Linked DNA regions of Homo sapiens: all the other regions are linked to region 1. The links are contacts of gene promoters, found by promoter capture Hi-C in human tissues and cell types (Jung and others, 2019). All regions are on one chromosome and are shown on one strand. The core of a region is centred on a gene start or on the middle of the fragment in contact, and the rest is flanking DNA. Distances in the headings are between cores, read along the strand shown. Region 1 holds the start of GPR85 (G protein-coupled receptor 85). Region 2 overlaps LOC101928012 (a long non-coding RNA gene). Region 3 overlaps LOC101928012 (a long non-coding RNA gene). Region 4 overlaps TMEM168 (transmembrane protein 168).

Evidence for each region. The method cuts DNA at HindIII sites, captures the fragments that hold promoters and counts their contacts. A contact is called where the count stands out against the background at its distance.
Region 2: a contact is called between a fragment that was not itself captured here and the fragment with the promoter of GPR85 in region 1, in 2 of the 25 tissues and cell types used here (lymphoblastoid cells and mesenchymal stem cells).
Region 3: a fragment that was not itself captured here is called in contact with the fragment with the promoter of GPR85 in region 1 in 1 of the 25 tissues and cell types used here (mesenchymal stem cells).
Region 4: a contact is called between a fragment that was not itself captured here and the fragment with the promoter of GPR85 in region 1, in 3 of the 25 tissues and cell types used here (dorsolateral prefrontal cortex, lymphoblastoid cells and spleen).

Annotation. Positions count from the first base shown.
Region 1 is chr7:113,084,928-113,088,964 of GRCh38, forward strand. It overlaps GPR85 (G protein-coupled receptor 85), which reads right to left and starts at 1,900. Exons shown (of 3, transcript NM_001146267.2): 1 at 1,395-1,900; 2 at 1,065-1,182. RefSeq lists a silencer at 1,586-1,645. The HindIII fragment of the contact is 9,773 bases long and covers 1-4,037 here.
Region 2 is chr7:112,648,698-112,652,734 of GRCh38, forward strand. All of the region lies in intron 5 of LOC101928012 (a long non-coding RNA gene), which reads left to right. Among named protein-coding and RNA genes, the nearest start is that of LINC03076, 33 kb to the left of the region's middle. The HindIII fragment of the contact is 6,629 bases long and covers 1-4,037 here.
Region 3 is chr7:112,669,170-112,673,206 of GRCh38, forward strand. All of the region lies in intron 5 of LOC101928012 (a long non-coding RNA gene), which reads left to right. Among named protein-coding and RNA genes, the nearest start is that of LINC03076, 53 kb to the left of the region's middle. The HindIII fragment of the contact is 7,161 bases long and covers 1-4,037 here.
Region 4 is chr7:112,779,505-112,783,541 of GRCh38, forward strand. The region is part of intron 2 of TMEM168 (transmembrane protein 168); the gene reads right to left. Among named protein-coding and RNA genes, the nearest start is that of TMEM168, 8.9 kb to the right of the region's middle. RefSeq lists an enhancer at 3,027-3,486. The HindIII fragment of the contact is 6,688 bases long and covers 1-4,037 here.

The DNA of each region.
Region 1 (4,037 bases), core at 650-3,149:
AGTTAACAAGCAATGATGTCAGACAGTGCTAACAAAGCTGTTCACTTATGGGGAAGCAAATAAAGTTTTAATTTTGAATACTAATATTTGCTTTACTAAATATTTTTGCTCGAGATTTCAGAGAATTGGCTTGTTTAGTTTTTCAAGCTAAGTGAATTTTAAAATGTCCCTATTTTGGACAATATACATTTGATAGGGTAACTTTAGGAGAGAAGGAATAAAATGTCCCATTCTTGTAAAATATGCCAGTCCAGGAATTAACCACTAGAATTGCAATGGAATCTACAAGATTGCTATTAGGAGGCAGAGACACTACCTACATTTATTTGAGATCTATTAGTATCTGTCAGTGTTTCACAGGCAGCTTCTCTGTTTGATGTGGGTCCAAAGAACCCGTGCAAAATATATCTTAAGTGCCACTATTCATGCTGCATAAGAGTATTTGTTGATTCATCTTAAAGCAAAATTTCAAAATTAACTTCAAAATTAATAGGAACTTACTTGTCCCAAGATTTGATGTGATTTAATCATTTGTCTTTCCCTCTCCACCCTACCCCCCATTTCTGGCAAATCTTTTAAGCCCACATGATTATTAAAATGGTTAATGTAAATATTGGACAGGGAAACACACCCAGAGGAATAATGCACTTCCATTTGTAAACCTTGGCTGCCTGGATTCAAATGAATATAACATGAACCTGTATTTCTTGGGCAATTAAGCCTTTCCCATTTACACTGATAACCTTTGTTGCAAATCACAAGTGGCTGCTTTTTAAAACAAAATGCACATTGTCTCGCAGGTGCCTGGACCACACCAGGGAAATCGGCTTCCTCTGTTATTCCCACCAAGCGTGTTTCTTTTGCCACTTCTCACTGGCCCGGAATATGCTGGTGGAAGCCCAGGCAAAACTGCGTTCGATGATTTTAATTTCCCCACCGGTACATCCTCGGGTAAATACCGATCGCATCATGCAACATTACGAAACCTGAAATCCGCCACCCCTGGATTTATAATGGGGGGAGGGTGGAGGAGGGGGAGAGGGAGAGAGACATGCATTACATACGCGAAGATGGGGAGAGAGATTGCTTCTGTGCTGCAAAGGAACCGTTCCCGGTGATTCGCAGTCTGATATTCCTCAGTCTTGTAAGGCTTTCCAGAAATGGAGCTCTCAGTAAGCCCTACTGAAGATGCATTGTCTGAATGTACTTCCATTATGCAGTTTATTGTCACAAAACACATACACACACACACACACACACACACACAGAGACACACACACACACACACACACACACAACCTGAGGGAGGGCTCTTTCTCGGTGAACCTGCAGTTTCATCAACACTGTGCATTCCCCCACATCCCCCAAACTTAACCAAGAGTATATCCTCCTACCTGTTGGTGTTGGATATCCCGACAGACTATAGCTTCTTTCTATAAATTGCTGATTTTTTTCTTTTTTTCTTTTTCTTTTTTTTTTTTTTTTTTTTGTTTTTTGTTTTTTTTTTTTTTTTTTTTGCCTTAGTGCCTTGACTGAGCATCCAGGCAGGGCTCGGCGGCGCCTGCGCGCTGGAGCCTCCTTGAGCTCCAGCCGCGTCCTCCCCTGTCGCAGCGGCACCGTCTCCCCCAGTAACGCAGGGGCCGCGGCGGCGGCGGCTGCGGTGGCGAGGGCGGCGGCGGGGCTGCTTCAGCCTCTGTGGAACCAGCAGGAACCCCTACCTGACTCCAGAGCTGGCTGGGTTTATTGACTGCCCTGTCCAATCCAACTGGCAGCATTAAGCTTTTGTCCCTTCGTGGCTGCTTCTGAACTTTTCCCTCCCCGCATTTGTAGTGGGGGGCTGGAAAGGCCCTTTCAGGACCTCAGGCCCATCCTCTTCCCAAAGGCAGCGCACGAGGAAGTCACAGTGCCCGTGACGCCCGCCCCCTCCCTCAGCTTCCCGGAACCCTAACCTTCCCCAGACACTTTCTTCCCTTTTCTTTTAGGGTGGTCCAAACCACCGGAGGCTTCTTTTATATATTTATTTTTAAGTGATGTCTCCAGCTAACCTTTAAATTTGCAGGTTAGCTGGAAAAAGACAAGAAAAGAATGGGAAAAAAGAAAAAAAGTTATTTATTTATTTATTTATCTTTTTCCCACAGTTAAAAATCTTTTCAATGGGGAAGAAGGGAAGGCACGTTAGGGCAGCTCTCTCTTTGTTAGTCATCTTCTATTCTCCAATGCACGCAAATATGCGTAAAAGTAGGGAGAAAGCTAAGTTCAGAGGACAACTACAATATGATTTACATTCAGTCTACCTTAAAGGATGTCACTAAAGAATCAGGCTTATAAAATGTTTAAATGGCTATTCCTGGCATTCCACCCCACCAAGCAACAGTATTCCTTTTCCCTTCTTACAAGTTCCGCTGACCAATGATGGGTGATGTCAAAGCAGTTATGTGTACGAGTTTCCTTTTTTCCCCTTTGTTATTACAGATGAAAAATACTAGAAATATAACAAATACGTAAAACTTACACCAGTCCAAACGGTCGGATGATACCACAGACACCACAAAGCCTGACACGTGGGTGCTTAGGAATGCCTCTAGAATCATGCATTTTCTTATTTTACCATTTCCGAAGAGTTTTGTTTGTGGAGGTGATATAAAATTTTAAGCAACAACTTCCCAGTTCTCCTACCCAAAACTAGCAGACACGCTTTCATTAATTCCCAATGTAAAACGTCTGCTTCTTTTTCTGCATGCTTTTTGCTTTATAATAATCTGTTAATGAAACAAAAAATAAAAATCTTCTCTACAGTAATAATCTGATCTTGAGACAGCAGTAAAATACCTCATTGCTGGGTGGTGAGATTGTGACATTCAGGGGAACTCAGGCCAATCAGCATACAGATAATATGGGTTAATTTACATACTGTATTTCTATTGGATGAGCCGAGGTAAAGCCTTATCTTGATGTCACAGTCGTTACACAAAGCCCTATGTTGGTAATACTGAAATGATGTTAAATTTCCCTGATTTGTTCTTGAATTTCCTACGTCCATTTAAATACATGGATAATAGTTTGTTTTTTTCGAAAAGAATATACACAAGGCACTAAACTTTGGCATTCCCTTAACCTAGAAAAATCAATCCTACAGCCATGCTGGAAGTAACTTGAGGGCATTTCCATTCAAATAAAACATTCCACTTTTTGCAAAGCAAATGAATTCAAAACTCAAAACCATGTGGTGGTTTGCAACTTCTAAGTAAAATGTCAAATTCGTTTTTATGAAACTACAAATCACTTCAACTTGTGCTTTTTTGCTTCCCAATAAATGCTTCAATGTACTTTGCAAAGAGTTATTTCCTGAATTTTTACAGTTTTAAAAAATGTATGGAATAAGAGGCTTAAGTTTGCTGAAGATTCATGATTGGTCAGATGTTAGGTTGTACAGATTAGGGAAAAGCTATTTTAAAGTAAATTAAAAGAGTCACTGCACTGCCAGGCCATGAAGCAGTAATATACTCTGCCAAAAGTTATAGGGCCAAGATCCAAGGGTTTTAACTAGTCTTATTCTTTAAGCAGATATTGATTCCTTAAAAATAAGGGAGAGGGTATATGTGTATGCAATATTCTTTCATATCCACATCTCAGGGTATAGTAAAGCTATTTTTTTCCTTTGCAGTTGAGCACAGTTACATCCACTAATTCTTCAGCTTTTCCAGCTGTTGGATAAGAATGTCATTTTCTTGCCTCACAAGGGGACTCAAGAAATTAATGAGATATTTTCTATCTAGCTCATTAACTCTACTGGAGAAAACATTGGAAGCTACATCTTTCATCAGCAGGGCTTTAAAAAATATGTTTAATAGCTGACAAAAGTTTCATATCATCTACAAGTTCTCAAATGTAAAGTTATTGCTTCAAATTGTTTAGATCATAGGCTTAGTTGGTCTTAACTAATTTCTTTTTTTTTTATCCCCTACATCACCAAACCCAGAAAATTTGATTTTCAGGTTAAGAGTAAAAGAACAAAGCAAATACAACAAAACTATATG
Region 2 (4,037 bases), core at 614-3,113, 440 kb before region 1:
ACCCTTCCCATCCAAGGAACACAGTTAGCAGCCCTACCTAGGCAAGGGACCCAACCAGTTATGTTGCTCAACTTTGAGGCACAGACTATGGCCATGCCCAATTGCAGTGTCCAGCCAGTGGCTCTGCTTGACCACAGAGCATAGCTAATAGACTCACCTGACCAAGGACCCCAGCCAATAACCCCCACTTGACCTCATAACACAGGCACTGGCCCTGCCCAATCAGAGACTCTGGCAGCAAGCCTCATCTATCCATGATTACTACCAGATGGCCTATCCCACTCCAGGCTGGGATGACTCATGAAGGTCTTTTCCGAATGAAGTAAACTTATAAAGTCTGGAAGAGGGAACAGCTTAGTCAAATGCATAGACACCAATGCAAGGATGCAAGCATCACGAAGAATCAGAGGAACATGACATTACCAAAGAAAACAAATAAAGCTTCAATAACTGACTCTAAAGAAATAAGTATCTATAAACTGACTGGCAAAGAATTCAGAATAACCCTATTAAAGAAGTTTGTAACTACAAGAAGACACAGATAGGCAACTAAACAAAATTAGGAAAACAATACATGAACAAATGAAATGTTCAACAAAGAAAGCTGAAGAACGGAATTCTTCAACTAAAAAGTTCAATAAAGAGCTGATAGACTCAGGCAAGCAGAAGAAAGAATCAGTGAACTTGAAGACATCCTTTGAAATTATCCAGAGGAGTAAAAAATCAAAAAAATGAAAAACAGTGAAGAAACCCTATAGGGTTTATAGGACAGTATAAGCAAAACATATACATATAATGGGAGTCCTAGAATGGGAGAGAGAATGGGAAGAAAGTCTATTTTAAAGAATAATGACTGTAAACTTCCCAAATTTGGGGAGAGAAATGGACATTGAGATTCATTAGACCCAAAGGTTCTCAAATAGTTTGATCTCAAAGAGGTATACAGCAAGTAAATTAGCAGAATTCAAAGGCAAAGAGAGAATTTTGAAAGTACCAAGAGAAAAGTGACTCATCACATATGAGGGAGTCTCCATCAGATTGTCACTGGATTACTCATCAGAAACCTTGCAGGCCAGGAGAGAGTAGGGTCATATATTAAAAATATTGAAAGCAGTAAAACTGCCAAGAATACTATACCCAGGAAAGTTGTCCTTGAGAAATGAAGGAAAGATAAAGACTTTCCCAAACAAAAGCTGTGGGGGTTTATTACTACTAGACCTGCCTTACAAGAAATGCTAAAGGGAGTTAAGGGAGTTTTTCAATCTGAAATGAAATGATTATAATTAACAATGTAAAAATATATGAATGTATAAAACTCACTGGGAAAGGTAAATACAGTCAGCCCTCTATATCTTTGGGTTTCACATCTGTCAAGTCAACCAACCACAGATTTAAAATATTAGAAAAAAATCACATCAGTATTGAAGATGTGCAGACATTTTTCTTGTCATTCTTCCCTAGACAATACAGTGTAACAACTATTTATATAGTATTTACACTTTATTAGGTATTATAGGTAAATTAGAGATGATTTAACGTTGGAAAATGTGCATAGGTTATATGCAAATATTATGCCACTTTTTATCAGGGATTTGAGCATCTGAAAATTTTGGTATCCACAGAAAGTTCTGGAATCAATCCACCACAAACAGTGAGGGGCAAGTGTATATAGTTAAATTCTGAATTTTCTAATATTGAAATAGTGTTATGTAAATCACTTTCAACTCTAGTGTAAAAGTTTAAAGACAAATATTAAAAGTAACTTTAACTGCAATAATTTGTTAATGAATACACAATATTAAACAGATGTAAATTGTAACATTAATAACCTTAAATGTGACTTGGTGAGGAGAATTAAAAGTATAGAGTTTTTTTTGATGTGATTCAACCTATTATGAGCTTAAAATAAAATGTTATAACTGTAAACTATTTTTAAATAAGCCTCATGATAGCCACAAAGGAAATATGTGTAGTTGATACAGAAAAAATTAAGATAAAGGAATCCAAGCATACCACCATAAAAAGTCATAAAATCACAAAGGAAAACAGCAAAAGAAGAAGGGAAGAGAGGAACTCCAAAGCAGAAAACAACAAAATGGCAGTAGTAAGTCCTTGCCTATTGATAATTAAATATAAGTGGATTAAGTTATCTAATCAAGAAACATAGAGTGGCCAAATGGATTTTAAAAACCAAGATCCAACTATGCTGCATATAGGAGACTCACTTTCAGTTTAAAGACATGCATAGGTCTCAAGTGAGAAATAATTTGGCAAATAAAAATTAAAAAATAAAAAAAAGACACACATAAGCTGGAAGTGAAGGAATGGAAAATAATATCCCATGCATATGGTAATCTAAAGAAAGTTGGGGTGGCTACTTAGACAAAATAGACTTTAAGTCAAGAACTGTGACAAGAGACAAAGAGGGCCATTATACAATGACAAGGGGGTCATGTCGTCAAGAGGATATAACAATTGTAAATATATATGTACCCAAAACTGGAGTACCTAAATATATAAAGGAAATATTAACAGAACTGGAGGGAGGAGAAATAGATAGTAATACAATAGTGGTAGGGGACTTCAATACCCACCTTCCACAATGACAGCAAATCAGTAAGGGAACAGAAGAGTTAAACAATGTTGTAGACCAAGTGGCTCTAACAGACAAATACAGAACATTCTATCCAAAAGCAGCAGATTACATATTATCCAAGTAAAGATCAAATGTTAGGACTTAAAACAAGTCTTAAAATTTTTTAAGAAGATTGCAATCATATCAAGTATCTTTTCTGACCACAATGGTATAAAACTGGAAATCAATGACAGGAGAAAAATGGAAAACCACAAATATGTGGAAATTATGCAACACATTTCTGAACAACCAATGGGAAAAAGAAGAAACCAAAAAGGAAATTTAAAAAATATCTTGAGACAAATAAAATGGAAACACAACATACTAAAACTTATGGGATGCAGCAAAACCAGTTCTTAATATAGCAATAAATGCCTATGTCAAGAAAAATGAAAGATCTCAAATAACCTAACTTTAAACATCAAGGAAGAAGAAGAAGAAATCTCAAACTTAGCCGAATAAACAAAGTAATAAAGATAAGAACAAAACACATGAAATACAGATTAGAAAGACAATATAAAAGATTAACAAAATGAAGACTTTGATTTTTGAAAAGACAAACAAAATTGGCAAATTTAGCTAGATAACCAAGAAATAAAGAGAGGATTGAAATCAAATTATGAATGAAAGAGAAGGCATTACAACTGATACCATCCAACCACAAAGGGTCATAAGAGATTACTATGAACAATTATATACCAACAAATTGGGTAACCTTTTCTAGAAATATACGACCTACCAAGACTGACTCATAAAGAAATAGAAAATCTAAACACACCAGTAAAGAGTAAGGAGATTGAATTGTTAATTAAAAACTACCCAACAAAGAAGAGAACAGGACCGATGGTATCACTGATGGATTCCACCAAATATTTAATGAGCAGTTAATGCCAATTCTTTTCAAACTTCCAAAAAATTAAAGAGGAGGAAACACTTCCAAACCTGTTCAATGAGGCCGGCATTACCCCAACACCAAAGCCAGATATGGATACTACAAGGAAAGGAAATTACAGGCCAATATCCCTGATGAAAATAGATATAAAAATTCTCAACCAAATACTAGCAAACAAAATACTAGCAAAATTCAACAATACATTAAAAGGAGCATACACCATGATCAAGTGGAATTTATTCCAGGCATGTAAGGGTGGCATGATATACCAAATCAATAAGTATGATACAACACTTTAACAAAATGGAGGATAAAAATCATGTGATCATTTCAGTAGGTGCAAAAAAAGCATTTGACAAAATTCAACGTTCTTTCATTGTAAAAATTTTAAAAATTGGGTATAGAAGCAATATACCTAAACATGATAAAGACCATATATAACAGGCACACAGCTAACATCATACTCAATGTTGAAAAGCTGAAAATTTTTCTCTAAGACTAGGGGCAAGT
Region 3 (4,037 bases), core at 485-2,984, 420 kb before region 1:
AAGCATGTCTTGTTATTTCCTCCTATGGCCCTGGGAGTGGGAGTGTTCCTCAGGAAGAGGTGCATCCTGCAGTGTCTCTAGCTGGGTGGTATTTGGTCCATGCTACAGTCTAAGCAGCCTGAAGGGTGCCAGGATCCTGGGTTATACTTCTTTCAGTCAGAGGCTGTGGCCTCTTTAGTAACTGTCTCAGCAGACATATAAGTGTCCACAGCTGGCCAAAGAGAATACTGCTATCCCAAACCCATAATGGGAGAGGGTGTCCTTTTTTTGTGAGGCTAACAGGAGTATTGTGGTTCTTACCAGTTGCTACCAGATGACTCAGTTATTCTACTCTTTGCCTCATCTCAATATCCATGTTATTCAAAATCCAAACCAACACTTACATCATCATATTACATTGTGATGATTAATTCTATAGGCCAACTTGATTGGGTCTTGAGTGTCATGGGCTGCTGGCTAACCATTATTTCTCATCCTCATGTGCCTCTGAGGATGTTTCTGGAAAAAATTCCCATTTGAATGGGCAGACTGAGTAAAGCACATGACCCTCCCCAGCATGAGTGGGTATCATCCAGTCCATTGAGGGCCTGAATAGAACAAAAAGGCCAAGGAAGGTTTAATTAACTCTGACGGACTGCTTGATCTGGGACATCAGTCTTCCTCTGTTGGTGCTCCTGGCTCTCAAGTCTTTAGACCCAGACTGGAATCTATACTATTGGCTCTCAGGCTCTCAGACCTTGGAACTACATCACCAGCTTTCCTGGGCCTCTAGCTTGTAGATTGCAGATTGTGAACCTTCTCAGACTCCATAATGCCTGAGCAACAACTTAATAAATTCCATCATATATATATATATATGCATTATCTCCCATTGGTTCAATTTCTCTGGAGAACCCTGACCAATACATACAGTTCATAAATTTTGGCATCTAGTCTTCTACTAGTTAAATTGGTAATCTAATGATCATCTTTTTAAAAAATCCATGATATGATACATTGAGAATGGAAATCCAGGCCCAAGAGAGAGAATCCCAGACCTTCTTCAGCCTCAGAAATAAAAGATAGGCTTTTAAGGCCTCAGCTGAGAGACATGAAAATATTTTTTCATTTTAAATCCTTTAGAATGTATAAGGTAGAATACTCAAACCCTCAGTGATCCTTTGTCTGTGATGTGCTCGGGATGAGCAAGAAAAACTGCACTGCGAATCCTAGCAAGCTTTTAACTGTGGCATTGCTCTGAAAAAAATTACGTGAAAGGAGTTTTATAAGCATTTGATTGACATCGATTCTCACAGGAAAGAAAAAGCCTGGGAAGAGAATGAGGAAGAAAAAATTGAACTTTTGATTTATAGTTCAAGAGCACAGCAGACTAAAGAGAATTAAATAAAGGAGGTTAGGGAACAAAACAGAAAAGAAGGTAAAATATAGGTGGTAAAAAGGAAGCTACAGAGGATTCTACAGAACAGGAGATTGTGGGATATCTTTGTTTCAAGATAGTACTCTCTAATGTGTGGGAAATTGGGAGAGGGTTTATTATTTGTGAGGGTTACTTGACTTCATGTTAAGTGTTGATGACACTCATTGACCAGAGTTTTATTTGACATGCAAAATCCCTAGTTTGCACCTAAAATTTTATTATTTCTTTATAATCTCAATAATCCTGAGGCTGCCAAACGTGTGTGCACATATACCTATTTGTGTGTGTGTGTGTGTATATATATATGTGTGTGTGTGTTCTTTGTAGGAACACATCCAAAATGGGTGCAACCAGCACTACCATTTCCTTCTCTAACAAAATTGTAATACAATATATATTATATTACAATTATGTAATTGTATTATAATTATGTATTATTACAATTCTGTTATAGAAGAAAAAAGTAGTGCAGGTTGCACCCATCTTGGATGTGTTTCTATGACAACAGTACCTCATCTGCTCATATATCAGCTTTATGCTAATTTTGTTATTAATACATTGGTTGACTTTGGAGTTAGAGCCTTCTAAATTACCTGGTTGTATTGAGCAAATGAATTAATATTCACCATTCCCCATCCTAACTAATTAATAGCAGTGGAGCAGTAGCAGTAACAATTTCTACCTCTCTAGTATTTTACAATTTACAAAGTGCTTTCTTAGATTTATCTCATTTGATAAATAGATATACAAGTGAGTGCTGCATGCATGCAACTAGCTCTTTTGGCAAACAAAATGCCATAGTTAAGTGAGGGTATGTATCTCTTTTCTTACAACCATAGGTATTGAATTCTATACCAAGCCCTATTTCAATAAAAAATTTAAGTAGACAAATATCGGTTGCAACATGAACGATAGGTTTAATTAATACAAAAGACACAGAAAGCATGTTAATAACCAAAACTGCAGTGCTCTACCCACTGAGCATCAGACAGTAACACAGAAAAGTAAAACAAGCTCTACTGCTGATTAAGATTAATTGAAAAGATTCCCAGAAAGTAGAAAAGTACAGCTCAATTTTGCTTTAAAAACGTTAAATATATTTAGCACATGCGTTTCTTTTTGTAATTGATTTATGGCTGATTATCATTTAAAAGAGTTTGATTTAATGTTTTTCTTACAGCTGTATTGAGGGTTAATTGATATATAATAAATGGCATATATTTACAGTGTACAGTATGAGAAGCTATGGCATACATGTACACTCATGAAACCATTACCATAATCAAGATAATAACATACCCATTACTCCCTGATATGGTTAGTCTTTGTGTCCCCACCCAAACCTCATCTTGAGTTGTAATCCCCATAATTCCCATAATCCCCACGTGTCAAGGGAGACACCAGGTGGAGGTAATTGAATCATAGGGACAGTTTCCCCCATGCTGTTCCTGCGATAGTGAGTGACTTCTCACGACATCTGATGGTTTCATAAGGAGCTCTTGCCCCTTCATTTGGCACTACTCCTTCCTGCCGCCTTGTGAAGAAGGTGCCTTGCTTCCCCTTTGCCTTCTGCCGTGATTGTAAGTTACCTGAGGCCTCCCCAGCCATGGTGAACTGTGAGTCAAACCTCTTTCCTTTATAAATTACCCAGTAAACTGTACATTTGTATCCAACTCTCAGTAAACTGGATAATTTATAAAGGAAAGAGATTTAATTGACTCACAGTTCACCATGGCTGGGGAGGAAAGGTGGAAGAGCCCCTTATAAAACCATCAGATCTTGTGAGAACTCTCAGGCAGTTCTTGATAGCAGTTGAAAATGGCTAATACACCCCCAAAAGATTTCTAAGGCTCCTCTGTAATTCTCTTCCTACTCCTCTATTATCCAGGTAACTACTCATCTGCTTTCTATAAATTAGTTTGTATTTTCTAGAATTTAATATAAATAGACGAATCCAGTGTGTGCTCTTTTTTTGTCTGAATTCTTTCAGCACAATTAACTTGAGATTCATCCATGTTCTTAATATGTATAAATAGTTCTCTCCTTTTTATTGCTGAGTGGTATTCCATTGGATGAATAGTCACAATTTGTTTATCTATTCACCTGCTGATGGAAATGTGTTTTTTCTCTCATTTGGGCTTGTTACAAATGCTGGGAATATTTATGTACAAGTCTTTATATGGACATATGTTTTCATTTATCTTGGGTAAATACTTAGGAGTGGGATGGCTGGATCATATGGTAAGTATATGTTTAACTTTTTAAGAAACTGTCAAACTGTTTTCAAAAATAGGAGTAAAGGAAATTGTTTATACAACAAACATTTCTTCAGCATAAAATTTAACTTACGTTGTTTAAAACAGTTGATTCTTAGGGCAGAGTGAGAGGGAGCGGGGAGATTGTTCACACTAATGAGTGTTTTAGTACTTTTGATTGACATGCTAAAGTTTGCACCAATAGATTTTTTTCAAACTATTTCATGCTAATGTGCCAAATACAATCTCATTATTCATCCAAGGCATCCATTTCATTGCAAGGCTGTAGCAAAAATATGTCAGTCATTTGTTCTGCATCTTCCCTTGTTTACATTGAGGTTAATGGAAAGATCATTACTAAAATA
Region 4 (4,037 bases), core at 630-3,129, 310 kb before region 1:
CACCTTAATTCCAAGTAACAAATAAGATCAATTGATTCAAGCCTACAAGTACTTATTCTCCTTTGCTTCTCCAAATTATCCTCAGCTCATTATCAAATTTTAAGACATGGCTCATATTTCAGAGCAGATATAAACTGAGCACAAAAGAAGACCAATAAACAACCTGTAAGTAATGCCCTTTGAATAAAAGTTGTTACTAGTTATTAGATCTCTATTCAGCTGGGCTTTCAAGTCATGGTCAAAGTATTCAATGTTTCATATCCTAAAATTTTTCAGATAACAGGAACAAAATTTCTTTATGCAATGTCATTTTTAAAATGTAACATTTACATAAACATATACGGCTTGTTTGTTTAGAAGCATTCTTGTATGAGTCACCTTATGCAAACCAGATTTGGAAAACATACATAGAAGTCTAAAGAAAGTAAAGCCCAACTAAGAAACAGTATACGTAAATGCGGCAATATATAAATGGAGAGACTGTGAGAAATCCAGCTTTAAGAAACCACAGGCGACTTTCAAAACTTTGCTTGTTTCAGGAAATTTAAGAACATTATGAAGGCTACTGTATAATTTTAAAGTCAAATGACTTCTTTACGTGGAAGAAGTAGGGCATAGTGGAAAGGACCCAAGCTTCGGAGTTAGACTTTTGTTCAATCCCAGCTCAGCCACTTGCTATGTGTACACGAATAAGTTAATTAACCTTTTGAGTCTTGATTTCTGGAATATATACAGAGATAATTTATGTCATGAGCTTATTCTGTAGATTAGAAATACATATGTATGGCAGTATAAAGTTAAAAGAAATGCTTTCCACATGACCCAGCAATCCCACATCACACTAAAATAAAAGCTTATGTTAACACAAACCCTTGTCTACAAAGGTTTATAGCAGCTTTATTCATAATTACCAAAAAACTGCAAATAATTTCAGTGTCTCTCAACTGAGTAAGGGATAAACTGGAACATCCATACAATGGGATATTGCTCACAATAAAAGTAACTAACTTACTGATGGCACACAGCAACACAGATGAATCTCAAATGATTTAAATAAGAAGTCAGACTCAGGGCCAGGTGCAGTGGCTCACACCTATAATCCCAGCACTTTGGAAGGCCAAGGCAGGGAGGACTGCTTGAGCGCAGGAGGTCGAGGCTGCAGTGAGCCATGATTGTACCATTGTACTCTAGCCCACACTGCAGAGCAAGACCCTGTCTCAAAAACAAAAGTCAGGCTCAAAAGACTACAATGTTAAATGATTTTACGAATATGACATTCTGGAAAAGGAAAATGTCTAGGAACGGAAAACAGGTTGCCAAGTACCTGGGGTTGGGAGAAGGACTGACTACAAGGAAGCAAGAGGGAATTTTGGCAGTGATTTAACTGCTCTACAAATTGACTGTGGTAGTGGTGGTCACACAAATACATGATCCGTATCAAAAAAAAAAAAAAAAAAAAAACGGGGGCACAGATAGTTAATATTTTGTTTTGCAGGCCATACAATCTCTGTTTTAACTACTCAACTATGCTGTTTACCATAATTACAAGAGTTAATATGGTAAGAAGATATAACAAACATGCATTTACCTCTAGGAACAGTGCTTCAAAATAAAGAAGCAAAAAAAAAAAAAGACAGAATTGAAAAAGCAAGTAGACAATTCAGGAACTATAATAGAGATTTTCATCTCTCTCAGTATTACAGAATTAGACAGAAAATTAACAAGGCTATAGATACATGAACACCACCACCAACCAACTTAATCTAGCTGATATTTATAGTACACTGTACCCAACAACAGAGGACTCATTATTTTCAAGTGAACATGGAATAAAACATGCCATGCCACAAAACAAGTGGCCTAAAAGACTAAAATCACACAGTGTTCTCCAACTACATGGAATTAGAAATCAATGGAAAGAAATGTGAGAAACTTCCAAATATTAGGATATCACACAACAAACTTATAAATAACCCATGAGTCAAAGAGGAAATTTCAAAGGAAATTAGAAAACATCTCACCAGATGGCATAGTGCTAGCACAATGGTAGACATATAGGTCAATATAACAAAAAAACTCAAAAATACAACCTTACGTTTATGTTTAACTGATTTTAAACAAAGACGCCAAGGCAATTCAATAGGCGAAATGTTAATCTTTTCAACAAATGGTGCTGGGAACAATGAGATCTATATATTAAAAAAAAAAAAACAAACTTAGATCCTTATCTCATACTATACTCAAAATGGATCATACACCTAAATGTAACAGTTAAAACAATAATGCTTTTGAAAGAACTGTGACCTAGTGTTGAGCAAAGAATTCTTAGATAAGATACTAAAAGCAGAGCCCATAAAAGAAAAAGTGGATAAACTGGACTCTGTAAAATTAAAAACCTTTACTCTTGAAAACTCTTCAAAAATTTGTATCATTCAGAAAATAAAAACAGAAGCCACAGACTGGGAGTAAACATTTCCAAATCATTTATCTGACAAAGGGCTCGTATCCAGAATATATAAGGAACTCTTAAAAGACAAATAACCTCAGCTTTAAAATGAGCAAAAGATGTGAATATTTAAACAACAAAGTAAATGGCTAATACACACATAAAAAGATGCTCAACATCATTAGTCATTAGAGACATAAATTAAAACCACAATGCTATCACCTACAGCTAAAGGGATTCTCAAGTAGATCAACTTTAGGAAAGAGTAGAATGGAAGGTGAGAATCAGGAAACTGATTCTCTTAAAATTATCTCTGCTGACAGACTCCTTGGAAAGTTTTTGTGTACCTCCAGTGGTACACACCATATCTGAAGACCACTAGGTAAGAAAAAGTTTGGAGACCAAGAAAATATTCATATTTGGTTAACAGAATTTGAAAGCCTGGAATGGCATCCAGCATGAATGAGGCTGACTTGGAAAAGAAAAAGTATTTAGGGCTGGGAAAGGAGCTAGCAGGAGGAGGGGCAAGGAAGAGGGAGGAAAACTCATGCTTGAGTTTTTGACATCAACAACATAATTCTGACAGTACCTAACACCAGCAAGTAGAGCAAAGTAAGGACAATATCCTCAGGCCACACCCAAGATGTTTTCCTCATTTGGCTGACTCCCACACAGGATCCCTGCCCTAGCCCAGCTGACTAGAAATCTAGCACCATGTCCAGGCAAGTCTTCACATCTCCCTCTTCAAAACACACTTCTAGAAATCACTCAGCAGCAACAAACTGTTACAAAGCAGAGAGCTGCACCAAGCAGAGCTGACTTTCCTCTAGAAATCAGTCAGCAGCAACAAACTCTTACAGAGAGCTGCACCAAGCAGAGCTGACTTTCCTTTATGCCCCACATCCCAGTCTGATGTACACAGATTATAGTATTTATCACACTGTAATCATAATTGTTTGTTTACATGCCAGCCTCTTCCTCCTCCCATTGGAGACTGTGCCACCTTTGACAGACATCCTGAGATCTTCCGCACCCACTATAGTGCCTGGCATATAGTGCATAGTCAATACATGCTCAATTAATGGAAGACTGGGTTTGTTAATACTGCAGATGCAAACTCCAACTGTACAAATGTCTTTGTCTACAAGAACCTTTTAGAAAACATTTCTGGGCAGCAAAGGTACTGTGAAACCCATGTTTTCTTTCTTAGGATAACCTCTAATCTATAATTAAGAACCTGCTATGTTGTTATATATCTGATCACCTTTTATATAAAACCTTCAGAGAAATGGCTGCATAAAAGAAACATGTTACAGTGAGGAGTCCAGGGAATAGACAGAAGTTAAGTAACCTTGTTCCTGCTAGTACTAGTGACTCTGGATGTGTCTTCTTTGGCTTTCAGTTTCCTCATGGGTATAATTAAAGGATCAAAATACAATCTTTAAATACTTTCCAAATGTTAGTATTCTAAGACTCTTTAATCGATGAGTGTTTCACTAATGAACAGTCAGGAAGCGGGAGGCATCTCAACGCTGAGTGTTCATAACATTTTGGTACCTCTTTGCTAGAGATCAAATAAATTATCCTCTTG